2 separate regions of the Homo sapiens genome follow, and region 1 is linked to region 2. Evidence: promoter capture Hi-C in human tissues and cell types (Jung and others, 2019). All regions are on one chromosome and are shown on one strand. Each heading gives the region's core, a stretch centred on a gene start or on the middle of the fragment in contact. The rest is flanking DNA. Distances are from core to core; before and after follow the strand shown.

Region 1 (7,662 bases), core at 3,091-5,590, 170 kb after region 2:
TCTATGGTGTTAACATGTCTTCCAAATTTTAAGTAACAGGTATTTAAATAACATGAACTTTGTTTTCAAACTTAGAAAATGTTTCAACCTTTTGGCTGGGCATGGTGGCTCAAGTCTATAATCCCAGCAATTTGGAAGGACGAGCTGCGAGTTTTGTCTGATCCCAGGAGCTCAAGACCAGCCTGGGCAACATGATGAAACTCCATCTCTACCAAAAGTTATAAAACTTTGCCAGGCATGGTGGCACTGCCTGTAGTCCCATCTACTCAAGAGACTGAGATGGGAGGATTGCTGGAGCCAGAGAAGTTGAGGCTGCAGAAGGTAAACTGTAGAGGCTAAAACATGATAAATATTTAATTCATCACTTAAAAGAAATGTTGGTTACATTGAAAAGAAATTTGATTAATGTAATTAGATATATTTCTGTTTAAAAAATAATTGAAGTAAGCCCTGTTAGCACCACTGCATTCCAGCCTGGGCAACAGAGCAAAACCTGTTAAAGAAAGAAAGAAAGAAAGAGAAGGAAGGATGAGGAAGGAAGGAAGGAAGGAAGGAAGGAAGGAAGGAAGGAAGGAACGAAGGGGAAAGAAAAAAAGGAAGAAGATATTTCAAGCTTTACAGTACCAGAGCCACTCTGTAATCAATAAGCAACAGGACCAAAACAGAAAGAGATTCTGTAGAACAGTCTAACCAGCGATACAATTATACATTTCTGTTCAGATATCAAAACCATTTTCAATAGTAAATATATGGAATGAACTCCCCACAGAGATCAAGTAGGATGTATGATGTGTGAATGAAATTATGAGTTGAGAGTAGGAAATTTATAAATTTAATCAAACAAATTAAAGCATTATGAGGAAGTTGTACTGCTAATGTATTACTTGGCAAGCTGTTCAGTGGAACACCAAGATATTCTTAAGGAAGTTGCAAATATCTTTTAAAATGTTATCATTGAAGTGGATTTTTAAAAAATGAGGACATGAATACCTTTACAAAGTATTCAGGGATAAAGAGAGAAAAATAAATTTAGATTGTGCATACATATATAAAATTTATTTTAAAAGATAAGCTTGTCTTTTTTATCCCTTAAATAAAAGGAGCAGATATTTAAATTCCTTGTCTTTTATTTTAAAATTTAGAAAATGCTTACAGCTTCCCACACTGAAATTTATACTAAGACAGATAATCTAATCAAGGGATAACAAAATCAAAACAGAATTCTCTTGATGAATCTATTTTCTTGATTTTTAAGTCTCAGTGTGTACTCTATAGTAAAACTATTTATAATTGATTCTGCTGTTTGAAAATATTTACTGATCGTTTATCTTGCACCAAGTGATCTCCAGCTCTGAAGATAGGTCAGTGGGAAAACATACAAAGTTGCCCAGCTTCGTTAAACTTAAATTCTAATGAGGAAAAAAGAAGTAATTAATCAGGGACTTTAAAACAGGAGTGTTGTGATATGGCTTGGAATTCTAACTGCTTCCTGTGCTTGCTGTGTGGAGACTGGATTGAAAAATAGGGCGATAGAAGCTTAAATTCATATAGAATATGGCTAGCCTGTATTTTGAGGGCCCCTGAAATAAGAATGTATAGTAGTTCTCATTATTTCCTCAAGAAATCTGTGCAGTAGAGCTTTGGCCTTGGGAGGGAAGTACTATAGTCACCAAGTGGTGAGGGTGGGAAGGTGAATTTGCAAATACCACTTGGAATGAGTTCACTTTAAAGGTAAAGCTGGCAGGATTTTCATACATGTCAGATCTGAAAAAATGTGTGTGCGTGTGTGTGTGTGTGTTATAGAGAGAGAGAGAGAGAGAGAGTGAAAACCAGACAGATACCGAGAGAGAACGACAGATCTGCAGTGACAGAGAGAATTAAAAGCGGACACCACGAATATTGAGCTCAGAAACTATAAAATGGGAGGTGCCATTAAACAGAATGGGGAAGAGCAAGTTTGAGGAGTATCAGTGGCTCCATGTGGACTTATTGATTTTGACATTCCTAACAGATGTCCAAATGGAGAAGTCAGACAGTGTTGTGCGTAGTCTAGTGTTAAGGTATCAAAGAAAATATCAGGAAATGAGTGACACAAAAATTAGTAAGAAAGCAAAGATAAGAAACATTAGTCAAAGTCCTGAGTCCAGTGGTTATCTAACACCCAAAAAGTAGTAGGCCGGGTGCCGTGGCTCATGCCTGGAATCCCAGCACTTTGGAAGGCCAAGGCGGGCAGATCTCCTGAGGTCGGGAGTTCAAGGCCAGCCTGACCAATATGGAGAAACCCTATCTCTACTAAAAATACAAAATTAGCCGGGTGTGGTGGCTCATGCCTGTAATACCAGCTACTCAGGAGGCTGAGGCAGGAGAATCGCTTGAAGCAGGGAGGTGGAGGGTGTGGTGAGCCGAGATTGCATCATTGAACTCCAGCCTGGGAAACAAGAGCAAAACTTCATCTCAGAAAGAAAAAAAAGTGATAAAGACAAGAAGAAACCAGCAAAAAAGTACTAGGGGTAATTATCAAAAATGTCAAAGGGAAAGTAGGTTAAGTGTTCTGGAATTCTCTCAAAGAAAGTTTTGAAAAAAGGAGGGAGGAAGAGATCAACTGCTTTCAATGCTGCTGATACATAAATTAAGACAAAGGCTGAGGAATTATGCTTCAATTCATCATTTAACGATATGGATATTGTTTGTGCTTTGATAAGAGCAATTTTCTTGGAGTGAGTAGGTGAGAAACCATATTGGAGTGGTTTCTCAAAGGAATGCCTGATCTCTGGATTCTTAAGGAAACTTTTTATTGAACAGTGGAGGCACAAATTGGATTTGTTTTAATTCCGGGGTCGGGACACACTCTAAACATGTGCCTCTGCATGCCTCGCTTATTACAGCTAGGTATCCTAGTATCTTTCAGTAACAGAATAATCACCTGCAAAACCCACACCCATTTAATAGACACGCTTTACAAAGACTGATACTAGAAGTTGTTGGAGAGGATGTGGTTCCACGTAATATCTTATGAGTCACTGATGGGCAAGTAAGCTGGTAAAATGTCTTTGGAAAACTCACTATACCTGCTATACTAAAACATTCAGATACCAAACACCAGAAATTCCATATTGTAATATATTTCTATGAGAAAAAAACAAGAGCCCTGTATTAAAATATAGATTATTATTAAAAATAATCACACTGGGTTTCCTGATTTTTTTATTAGCAAGTCAGTCTCTGCCTGATTCAATAGTACAACCTCTATCTAATATATATATATAGTGTTTTTAATCAACCACTAAGAAAAAGTATTATATTTTATATCAATTCTACATTCAGTGCCGAAACCAGCATTTTGTAGATTCCAGAGATTTGTTGAATAAATAATGAATAACTTAAATAAGTTAATATTTATAGTATCCATATACAAATAATACATCATCTCAGAATACAATAATAACGTTTGTTATGCAGAAAATGATTTCAATCTCAGTTAAAAATATTTTGGGCTTAGGAGTTACTGTCATATATGGATGCTCACATTGTTTTGTTTATACGAAAATGTTTGTAGTTAACGTACGTTTTTGGTACTTAAGCCTTTTGTTCTTGCTGCCATAGCAAATAGTGTGCCTATTAGGAACAAGAACCAGAGGTTTACTTCATCTTAACAGATTTCTTAATAAAATACATGCCATACTGTTTGGTTTAATGCATAAGCAAAGAGTCATTCACTCCGCCATTGCTACGTGTCCCTCCTCTAATACGGCTCCTGAAGATGTTACCGATAGCAGAGGACTTTGTGTTCAACCTAAGCACTTTATAGCCCTTTCACTTTCAACTAAGTATGAGATAAAATAATTCAGCACCAATAAAACAAACACTTCTTAAATACTGACCCTTTTTTTGAGCCTGTTTCACGTTACGCAGCAAGACAGAGTACACTTCTCTTTCCCAGCAAATCAGTGTTGGCACTACACCCTCTACACTCTGAAAACTTGTATTATTGGCTTCCTTAGAAACACAATTTGAGCTTATAATTTAGATGTCATCAAATAATGTACAAAAATATGCTACTTCCTTCCCCTTCACTTCTCTTCTCTTCTCTTCTTATCAGATAATTGTCAGTTGTTTTTTCTCTCCAACTCCTTTCCTCCGACTACTTGATTTTTAAAAGACTTTCTGCACATTTCCAATCTTAGTATTGTAGAGACAAAATGTGTGGTCAAACTGCATATATAGGAAGAGCTGAATTATATGCAAGCATTTTTAAATACACAATTCCTCCTCAGTTTTCTGTGATTATTTCATATAATCAAATGTCTTCCAGATACACATCCCAAACGAGTGGTTGTCAAGCTCTGCTTTGTGGTCTAATTTCATCAGAATTATCCAAAATTCTTATGATAAATACAGATAAATTGACATAACTCCAGATTTATGAAATCAACATTTCCAGAACCCAGGAATATGCATTGAAAAAGTGTATTCCTCAGATGATGCTGACATGATACGGGATCCGAGTTTACAATGCAAGGAAAATTACCTTCCTTGCCCTTCAGCTGACCCTTGTATCCAGAGGTCCTCTTCCCCTTTCATATTCTGCCCTCTCTCCTTCTGCACCTTTCTCCTTTCCTCCCTCCAGTTCTGCTCATCCAGATCCCAAGCCCTCCCCCATGGATTCCCTAAACCTCCCAAATGGTCAGTTGCCACTAAAGTTCCCTCTGTCTCATGAACAAGTTATGTGGGCAAATGTAAAATTTAAGCTTGGACCAAGCTGACTCAAGAGCGGCAATTACAAATTTCCCTAAACCCAGAGGGGACCAGCAAACACTTGTAGAAGATTAGAGATTTCCTGTGAGTGCAAAGGGCTCAGAGTGTCCTGATGCTGTAGACCAAATCTTACTGTCCCCTCCAATTCATGTGTTAAAATCTAATTCCCTATGTGATGGGATTTGGAGGTGAGGCCTTGGAAGGTGATTAAGTGATGAAAGCAGAGAACCCGTGAAGGGGATCAGTGTCCCTATCAAAGGGACGGCTGAGAACTCCTCATCCCTTCTGTCATGTGAGGACACAGTACAAAGATGGCCGTCTATGAACCAGGAAGGAAGCCCTCACCAGACACAAAATGTGCTGACCACTCACTGCTGACTCCAGTGAGTCAGAGGAGCGCAGGCCACATACCTGGGTCTCTGCCTCCATGCCTCCCACAGTGCCCAGGGCTGAGAGCAGAGTGGCAGCTGCTGACTGGGGCTGTGCTGGCCACCTGCTCTCTTCTACCTCTTGCTCAAGCCATGCTTTCAGCCCCATGGCTGAGGCCAGTGGCTAGAGCAGGTGCCATGATGTCAGGCAGCTCCTTAATGGGCTGGTCCTTGGCAGGACCAGGGCAGGGGCAGGAGGGCTCTGCAGCTGCCTCTAGCTCCAGTTCTGTCCCTGAAGGGGGCTCTTCCCCTAGTGCTGGCACTGGCTCATCAGCTGGTGCTGGAAGGTCCTGGATTGCCGCACATTGAGCAGGAGATGAAAAAGAAGAAAGAGTCACCAATGTCAGTCACTTTCCACTGGAATTTCCACACACAGAATCAGCCTCACTGAATTAAAGGAATTCCAGTCCAAAAACACTGCCCCCGCAAAGTCTCCAAAACTACAGGCCCCCCCTCACCATGTGCCTGTGCCTGGAGGAACTCCAGAGGCTCCAGCAGGCCAAGGACAATGCACGGATGTGGCCCGGATGGGATCACCAGTGAGGCCTGGCCTCGTAGGGCCTGCCCAGGGCTGTCCTGTGGTACCTGGGTGCGCCTTCGGCCAGAGGTGCCTGGGGTGAGGAATGAGCCTGCATCGGCATCATGGGAAAAGGCTGTCACTCTGGGCCCTCCTGAAGCAGGAGCCTCAAGATATGCGGATGCAGCATGAGAACATCTTGCTCTCCTGAGCATCTCCCACCAAGGGAACTGGCTGCGGGACTGTCTCTAGGATGTGGGTGCCTGGTTACCAGAATTCTAAGTTCTGTGAGGGTATATCACCAAGGAAGTGAAGTCACTTCTTTAAGGTTCCGTATCCTCAGCCCCTTCCTTCCATAAGACCTACTCAGAACCCCCTGGGCTGCTGGCTGCTCACCCTCCCCCCAGGCCAGATCCTTACCTGTACACAGGTAAGTCCACCCAGGGCCTGCTTGTACACGTGCTCCTGATGTGCACCTGGGACCTAGGAATCCACTTAGGGCCTGTGATCCAACAGGGGCCTAATGTTGTTTAAAAGTAATTTTTATTATTCCTACAGGAAAGAAAAGGCCTTCTAGCAATAAGAAGCACAGTTTCACATCAAAAACATAAAAATGATCAAAATCTTGGGGAAGAAATGTATCAATTTTAATCACTGAAATGTTAACTTTTGATAAATATTTAAGTTTATAAGGAAAAATAAAACCATGCTGATAAAACCACAGTTGTAGGGAATGCTATAGAGTTTCTCCTTTGTGGTTTGAACACAGAAAGGTCCCACCTAGTTAGGCTCATAATTTTCTACCTTAATCTTCTTGTTCTTATGATTAATGGAAAAAATACCATGACAATGATGGTGATGATGGTTCAAGTACACACTGAGGTTTAGTGACAGAAACATCAGGTGCTCCCAGTTACAGTGCAGCTGTTCTTATTGGGGTGGGAAAATCAATCTTGTGTTCAGTATACACGGGAAGCAGGAGTACATGTGGATATGACCACATTTCACTGGACTTATATTTTAAACAGAAGATCTACAGTTTATTCTTCAAAAAATAATAACACTTGCCATGCAAAGTATATATATAAGATGTCTCAAATAATTGTACTTACATTGCATATGAAAGTGATACTATTTTGATATGCTAGGTAAATAAAGTAAATTATTTAACTCATTTACTTCTTCCCTTTGTATTTTTAATGCGATGACTAGACATTCAGATTTCCATGAGGCTCACATCATATTGTGAATGAACAGTGCTGGTCTGCACCCCTTCAGGTTACAGGGGCTGAGGAGTGACCTGGTGCAGGAAGCCCCATCTCCATCCATAGGACATTGGTGTGAACCCAGGGAGAGGCGCTGGTGTAAGAGAGATGAGAACACAGGTGTGAACCACCTGCTTGTGCAGGGGACTGAGCCTTCACATAAGTTGACACTTAAAAAGCCACCACACCCCACCCTTGTCAACAGGAAACCCATTCACATCTCCATCAGCCACACAATCTCCAAGATTCTTCAAAAAGTAATAACAATAGCCATGCAAAGTATATGATATATATCATAAATAATTGTACTTACATTATATATGAAAATGATACTCTTTTTGATATGCTAGGTAAATAAAATACATTATTTAAACTCATTGACTTCTTCTCTTTGTATTTATAACATGACAACTAGACAGTGGGATTCCCATGAGGCTCACATCATATTGTGATTGAACAAGGCTGGTCTGCAGGGCTTCAGGTTACAGGGGCTGTGGAGTGACCTGGTGCAGGAAGCCCCGTCTCCTTCCATAGGACATCAGTGTGAACCCAGGGAGAGGCGCTGGTATGAGAGAGATGAGAACACAGGTGTGAACCACCTGCTTGTGCAGGGGACTGAGCCTTCACTTGGAGCCAAAGTTTTCTTTCCCAGGTTCAATCCTGAACAAGAGGGCCTTCTGGACTTCTTTTTGTTTTC
Region 2 (7,455 bases), core at 1,295-3,794:
CAGGATGCAGCTCCCATCTGGCTCGAGTGACAAGGACAGAGGGGAACAGGGCTTCTCTGAGCACCTCAGACAGCTCAGGGGACCTTCTTACCCACAAACGCCTTCGTTCCATTTTGAAGCGACTTAGGCTGGCCTCAGGACCTCCAACGCTTGGATTTCTAGGTCTCAGTCACTTGTTGCCACGCACGTCTGAGAGTAATAATCAAAATGCTCCAAAAAGAAGAATACATGTATAATATTTACGAAGCAACGGCCTCCTGTGAAAACCTCCGCAAATACTGCTGAGGAAACTGACAACTGGCGACTCAATCCCGCCCTTTCAGTGCAAATCTCTGGCTCCAAACCTGAGCACCAGTGTTTCCTGGGCTGAACCAGGGGGCAGGAGGAACAACAGACCATGTGGTTGGTCACAAGTGACCCCTGTGGTCAAGGACCCTGACTACGGTCTTGCAGCGACATTTCTGCCTCTGCTCCCGCCTTCCTAGGACGCCTACGCCACTGCCTGGGCCGTCCCCAACCCCCAGCACCTTCAGAGGGGCCGAGTCCCAGAGCATCCACCGCATTACAAATGCGCACCCACCCTGGAGAGCTCCAACCACGAGCACCGCCGCCTCGGTTCAAGGCATCCTTACAGCCACAACTCCTCAACTGGGGCCAATTTTCCGGGGCAGGCGGCCCGGGGTGACCCAAGTGGCGCACATTATTTTCTTTGGTCTTCAACCCATTTCCAGAGAGAAAACAGGGACCCGGGACAGGGGTGGTGCTGGGGGCACAAGCCCAAGGTCACCCTGCGGGGAAGCGGAGGAATCAGGGCTCGAACTTACGTTTTTCCTCAGAGAGTTCACCACACCGCGAAGTTGCTGGAAGGAAAGAACGAGACAATGGCTCAGCTAAGCGCCCTAGCCGCTGCGTGGGGCGGGGGGGGCGGCGGTGGGGACCGGGGGGCTGGGCAGCCTGGTCTGACCAATCCCCGTTTCTCAGTCCTTCCAGGGCAAAATCTCACGAGATCCAGTGAGGTCGCCCAGAGAGTCGAGAGGGGCTTGTTTTCAAAGACTGGGAGGAGGAGGGGCAGTGGGGGAGGGGCAGTGGGGGGAGGAGCAGAGGAGAAGGGAGCAGGAGGAGGGGAAAAGGGGAGAGGAAGTTGGAGAGCAGAGGAGGCTGGGGGTGGGGAGGAGATGGGGGTGGGGAAGGAGGGGAGATGGGGGTGGGGAAGGGGGGGCGGGAGGAGGGTTAGGAATGGGGGAAGGAAGACAGGGTGGGGGAGGGGTGGGCATGGGGGAAGGAAGACAGGGTGGGGGAGGGGTGGGCATGGGGAAAGGGAGACAGGGTGGGGGAGGGGTGGGCATGGGGGAAGGGAGACAGGGTGGGGGAGGGGTGGGCATGCGGGAAGGGAGACAGGGTGGGGAACCGAGAAGAAAGACAGTGGGGGGGGATGGAGGAAGGAACACAGGGTGGGGTGGGGGGTCGGGATGGGGGAAGGGAAACAAAGAGTGGTGGAGGCGTGGGGATTAGGAACGGAGACAGAGGGTGGGGGAGGGGTGGGGTGGGGGAAGGGAGACAGGGTGGGGGAGGGGTGAGGATGGCGGAAGGTAGACAAGGCGGGGGAGGGGTGGGGATGGGGGAAGGGAGACAGAAGGGGGGGAGGGGTGGGGATGGGGGAAGGGAGACAGAAGGCGGGCCAGGGCGGGAATGGGGGAAGGGAAACAGGGTGGGGGTGGGGATGAGAGAAGACAGAGGTTGGGGGAGGGGTGGGGATGTGTAAGAAAAACAAAGGGTTGGGGAGGGGGAGGGAAAAGAGGCAGAGAGTGGGGGAGGGGGTGGGGATGTGGAAAGAAAGTCAGAAGGTGGGGGGTGAGGGGTGGGGATGGGTGAATACGTGATGGCTGCGGCCTTTCCCACCAGACAGTAGGGTGGGGGCAGGGTGGAAAAAGGGGGTGCGGTGGGCGAATGGAGAGGCAGTGGGGAGGCGGGGGGCTGACTGGGAGTGTGGGACGGGGTGTTCTGGGATCACGGAGACGTCCAAGTCTGGACTCTGTCCTGGGTCTGTGCTTCTGGCGACCTCCCTTTTCTTCAGTGGGATGCGGGGTGCAGGGGCCGGTTCCAGGGTCCCCTGAGCTCAAGTTCTCGCCCCACCCCGCCCCGCAAGTCTAGAAAAGATGCCCCTGGCCTTGGCTGGGTAATCTCTGGATTTACCTACTTCTGTAACCCCCCGGGCTGAAGAGACCACCCCCCGGGATTCAATTAACTTACTCTCTGGAGCGCGCGTTCCTCCCTGCTCCCGGGAGTCGGTTTCCCAGAACTTTCTGAGGCCCGCGCATGCTCCCCTCGACTCCCCGTGTTTCCACTCTCCACAGAAATCCACGCATTCACGCCCCTCCCCTCCCCCGAGCCTGCAGAGGACTCCGCCCTGCTTTCCCTACATTCAGGGCTGCTCCTTTTGTCGCCAATACAGACCTGTTGACAGGTCACGCCTGGGAAGCGGGTGGGGTGTCCCGGAGCGGTGCTGAGGCGCTGCAGGCCCGGCTTCTGGCTGCGGGGGAGCTGTACCCTGAAGCCTCGCCGGAACTCGCGTCTGGGGCCAGCAGGGGGCACTAGAGTCAACAGGGACTGTATGCAAAACCCACTTCCTCCCAGGCCCTCTAGGGGGATGGTCAGGCTTCTGCAGAGATGGGGAGGATCCTTTCCTGGTAAGGGGAGAGGGACGGGCTAGGAGCCAAGCGGAAGGACCCCGTGTTCAAGGCCCTTCAAGGGACGGGACAGGCGAGGAATCTCTTTGAGTCTTTTGAATTGTTTTATCAGTCAGGCCTGGGAAGTACTCCGCCTCCACAAACTCTGTTTTCCTGAAAGGGGTCGGGGGGGGGGACCCCAACATCTCCTGCCACAGGCTATGATGGGCATGGTGGCTAAGAGCAACAGGCCGCGTGGTGAGGCTGGCTTTTTGTGGCTCTGCCCTGCCATTCCCCGAGGCATCCCCATGCCAGTGAACAGAGCTGCGGGTTCCCAGCTGCACAGATGAATGCACGAACAAAACATAGGTCCATGCAAAGGAAGTCATTGCATTGATCCAGATTCGACCTGGGATTGTCGCATAAAACAGGGCTGATAAAAACCGTTGTGTTTTCACCTTCGAAACAGAGACTCAGCCTCCCCCTCTCTGCTTGAGGCATTCAGCAAAGGTTCGTCCTTGAGTGGCTGTGGATGCTCAAGGACTTACGATTTCTGACTTTATAAAGTTTAGGGTGAAAACAAAAAACAAAATAAGAAGACCATTGTTTTAAAGTGGCCGTTGTAGCTAATTATCTCAAGAAAGCAAACAGGCTGGTACTGAAAGTTACACAGGCGGGCGGCTCCCTGGGAGGGTTGCCCAGCTCTCCTTTTCTGAGACCTGAGCAGGGAGCAGCCAGAGGAGCTTGAAGGGATGGTGTTCAGGGCATGGGAACAGGCTGCACACATCTTCACGGAGTACGGTGCTTGTCCAGTTTGAGAAGGGAAAGAAACTGGGGCAGAGGGCTGATGAGAAGGCAGCAGATGGATAGTGCGGGATTGAAAAGGGGATCCATTTGAAGACTGGCCACCATTATTTATTTTCATCATCTGATTGCTGTTGCTCCATTGAGATCGATGCGTGGAGAACAAGTTGGGGAGTGGAACAAATGGCAGGGAGGGGAGAGAAGTGAGTGAACATGACCCTGGTCCAGCCTCATAGGACAGAGCGTGGTCATGAAGTCCACAGAGGAGGACAGGTAGGGAGGAATCATGGCATGGCCAGGTTGTAGGGCAAGAGGCAGAGAGGAGAGAGGATTGTGGAGGATGCCTGCGGAGTGCCGACTGTCAGTCGAGGCTGGTCCTTTATTTATTTATTTTTTTTTTTGAGACGGAGTCTCGCTCTTGCCCAGGCTGGAGTGCAGTGGCGCGATCTCGGCTCACTGCAAGCTCCGCCTCCCGGGTTCATGCCATTCTCTCGCCTCAGCCTCCCAAGTAGCTGGGACTACAGGTGCCCGCTACCATGCCTGGCTAATTTTTTTGTTTTTAATAGAGACAGGGTTTCACCGTGTTAGCCAGGATGGTCTTGATCTCCTGACCTCATGATCCGCCCACCTCGGCCTCCCAAAGTGCTGGGATTGCAGGCATCAGCCACTGTGCCTGGCCAAGGCTGGTCCTTTCTTTTATGGCGATGGGTGTTTGAAAGTTGCACATACCAAAATAAACTCACTATTTGTTGACCCAAAGTAAAACCCTGAGGGTATGAAAGGGAAGGGCTCATGCTTACATGGCTGAGATAAAAGCTGTCTCAGGAAGCTGGGTGTGGTGGCTCACCCCTGTAATCCCAGCACTTTGGGAGGCCAAGGTTGGAGGATCCCCTGAGGCCAGGAATTGAAGACTAGCCTGAGTGATATAGCAAGACCCCATCTATATTTTTAAAAAGGGTTGGCTGTCTCGGGACTTTTCGAAATAGCCCTGCAAGACATTCCTGTTTTGGAATCACAACAATTTAGATAAGATGCTTTTGAAAGAACACCTGCCTAGGCACAGCGTCTCCACCAATGAACTGATGCCAACTGTGGTTTTGAGTCTTCATAACCGGTGAACTGTTTGCAAGCAGCTTATTTAAATCTCTTTTTTTGCCAATACAACCTTCCCTTTGCCCTCCCCTCTTGAGATGCATATATGGCTTGCCATAGCTGAGCATCTTAGGTTATAATGCTTTTTCTCTTTTTTAATTTTTTTTTGTAAATTTATATTTATTTTTATATTTATTTATTTTTTGAGACAGGGTCTTGCTTTGTCACCCAGGCTGGAGTGTAGTGCATAATCGTAGTTCACCACTGCCTCCAACTCTCGGGCTCAAGCAGTCCTCCCACCTCAGCCTCCTGAGTAGCTAAGACAACAGGCATGCACCACCATGCCCAGCTAATTTATGTATTTACTTTATTAAAAATTTTTTTTTTTTGGTAGAGAGAGTCTCACTGTGTTTCCCAGGCTGGGCTTGAACTCCAGGCCTCAAGTGTTGCTCCCAACTCGACTTCCCAAAGTGCTGGGATTACAGGCATGAGCCACCATGCCCAGCGTATAATTTTGTATTCTAATTCCTGAATAAATTCAACAAATTTGGAGGTGTTTTTTGTCTGATGGTTCCTTTTGGTCGACAACTGGAATGGGAGAGGAACAGTGTGAGGGCAAACATCAAGTGCTTTGCTGAGCTCCGGGTGCTTTTTTTGGATAAGACACAGAAAATACAATAAGATGTCTGTAATGTTTGATTTTTTTCCAGGTTTCTTGAGGTATAATTGACAAATAAAAATTGTATGGATTCAAGGTGTACAATTCATATACATTGATCCACATATACCTTGTTTGATGATTAATCAAATTAGTTAACACATCTTTCACCCCAGCAGTCAATGTGTGTGTGCTCTGTTAGCAAATTTCAATTAATAATATAGCATTATTAACTATAGTTACTATGCTGTATATTAGAGTCTCAGGATTTACCATCTTATAACTAAAATTTTGTAGCCTTTGACCAACATCTCTCATTCCTCCCACCCACAGCCCCTGGGAACTACCATTCTACTCTGCCTCTATGAGTTCCACTTTTTGTGTTTCTTTTTTCCCTTTCCTTTAATTTTTTTTGTATTTGTTATATTACCAAACCATGTCAAAAGAGTTCCACTTTTTAGATTCCACATATTATTAGCTCGTACAGTATTTGTCTTTCTGCATCTGGCTTATTTCACTTAACATAATTTCCTCCAGGTTCATTCGTATTGTTGCAAATGGCAAGATTCCCTTCTTTTTTATGACTGATGATGTCTGTCTGCAATATTTGAAAAAAAAATGCAGATCACGTGAATGATTGTCTAATGTAATTCTATTCATGTAAAATTGTGTATGACCATAACAGTCACTCATTCATTGCTTCGAGTTCTTTACAATCGGATGCCATATTCCTGGGGCTCTGCTAGGCCTGAAATGGGGAGTAGGAGTTACAAGGTTCCTGGGATATCAGTAATTCATATTTGTGAATGTCTTAGATAAGTGGGCTAACATGTACAGAAAATGGTCACTAAAATGATAACACTGTTTGTTATAAAATACTTTTCTGTATTCTCTTGAACTTTTTTTTTTTATCATTTATTAGACTGCTTCAGCTGCCATAACAAAATATCACAGACTGGATGGATTAAACAACAAAAATTTATTTCTCACAGTTCTGGAGGCTGGGAAGTCCAAGATCAAGGTGTCAGCAAGGTGGGTGTCATTCTGAGGCATCTTCTCTTAGCTTATAGGCTGAGGCCATTTTGCGTTGTGCTCACGTGACCCCTTTGTGCGCATGTGTGGAGAGAGAGCATGGGTGCTTCTTCTTATAAGGATGCTGAAAGTTATGAGAACCCGACCCTTGTGACTTCACTTAATCTTAATTACTTCCTTAGAGGCCCCATCTCCATATACAGCCACAATGGGGATTAGGGCTTCAACATATGAATTTGTGGTGGGGGGACGCAAACACTCAGTTCATAAACATATGATTTTTTTTTCCTTGATCGGCAATGAAAATAGAGGTATCTTCATTTTGGAAAGTGAGAGTCAACCTGTGCTGAATTAGAGTGATGACAAGAGATACTTTAAGACTGCAATGAGGGAAGCAAGGGACGGGGACGCATTTGACAGTCTGTTCTGCTCTGCTCCTGGAAGTGAGAGAGGCTGAGTCGGGACTAACCTTTGCACGGATGAGATAGAGAACTGAGAGAGAAAAGTATGTATTTTTCTATGACCACCTAAAATAAACCTGGAGTTGAAGGGACCAGCACTCTCAACCTAACCATTCTGGGAATAAAAATCATAGAGACCTCGCTGATTAATGGAAACAATTTGCCTTTCGATTTTCTAAGCAGGTGAATGCAAGGAGTTTGTGAACTTTACTGCTGTTTTCGTGTTTTTTTAGGTGAAGACACTGACAGTAAGAAAAGGCAAACCACAGGTCCAAGACAAAGTGGTCAAGTCAAGAAGGAACTCAGGCTGTGTAGTCCTGGTGCAAGGCTCCTTGCCCCCAGCGTGGGGTCACACTGGCTGGCTGTGCTCCCACGACACTTAGTGCATACTGGGCTCCTGACTTAATAACACGTGTTTGAAATGGCCCCTGATTCCCAATCTGCTGCAGGATTCTGCAGATGCGCAACAGGCCACAGTGGAAGGTCTTGGAGAGAATTCAGAGTGGCTTGCCTACGTTCCCATGACCGTTTGTCTTAATGGGAGAATCACCATTTTGGAAAATTCTTTTGGAGGCCAGGCGCGGTGGCTCATGCCTGTAATTTCAGCACTTTGGGAGGCTGAGGCAGGCAGATCACCTGAGGTCAGAAGTTCGAGACCAGCCTGGGCAACATAGTGAAACCCCATCTCTACTAAAAATACAAAACTTAGCCTGGCATGGTGGTGCACACCTGTAGTCCCAGC

The links. The method cuts DNA at HindIII sites, captures the fragments that hold promoters and counts their contacts. A contact is called where the count stands out against the background at its distance.
Region 1: a contact is called between a fragment that was not itself captured here and the fragment with the promoter of PRAME in region 2, in 4 of the 25 tissues and cell types used here (H1 embryonic stem cells, dorsolateral prefrontal cortex, heart left ventricle and 1 more).

What each region holds. Positions count from the first base shown.
Region 1 is chr22:22,725,590-22,733,251 of GRCh38, forward strand. It overlaps IGL. Among named protein-coding and RNA genes, the nearest start is that of LL22NC03-102D1.18, 18 kb to the left of the region's middle. The HindIII fragment of the contact is 6,996 bases long and covers 843-7,662 here.
Region 2 is chr22:22,556,721-22,564,175 of GRCh38, forward strand. It overlaps PRAME (PRAME nuclear receptor transcriptional regulator), which reads right to left and starts at 2,545. Exons shown (of 6, transcript NM_206956.3): 1 at 2,251-2,545; 2 at 825-860; 3 at 92-189. The coding sequence starts at 112. LL22NC03-63E9.3 (a long non-coding RNA gene) reads left to right here and starts at 2,623. Exons shown (of 3, transcript NR_027426.2): 1 at 2,623-2,687; 2 at 6,143-6,252; 3 at 6,947-7,455. It also overlaps IGL. RefSeq lists an enhancer at 2,462-2,756. The HindIII fragment of the contact is 17,569 bases long and covers 1-7,455 here.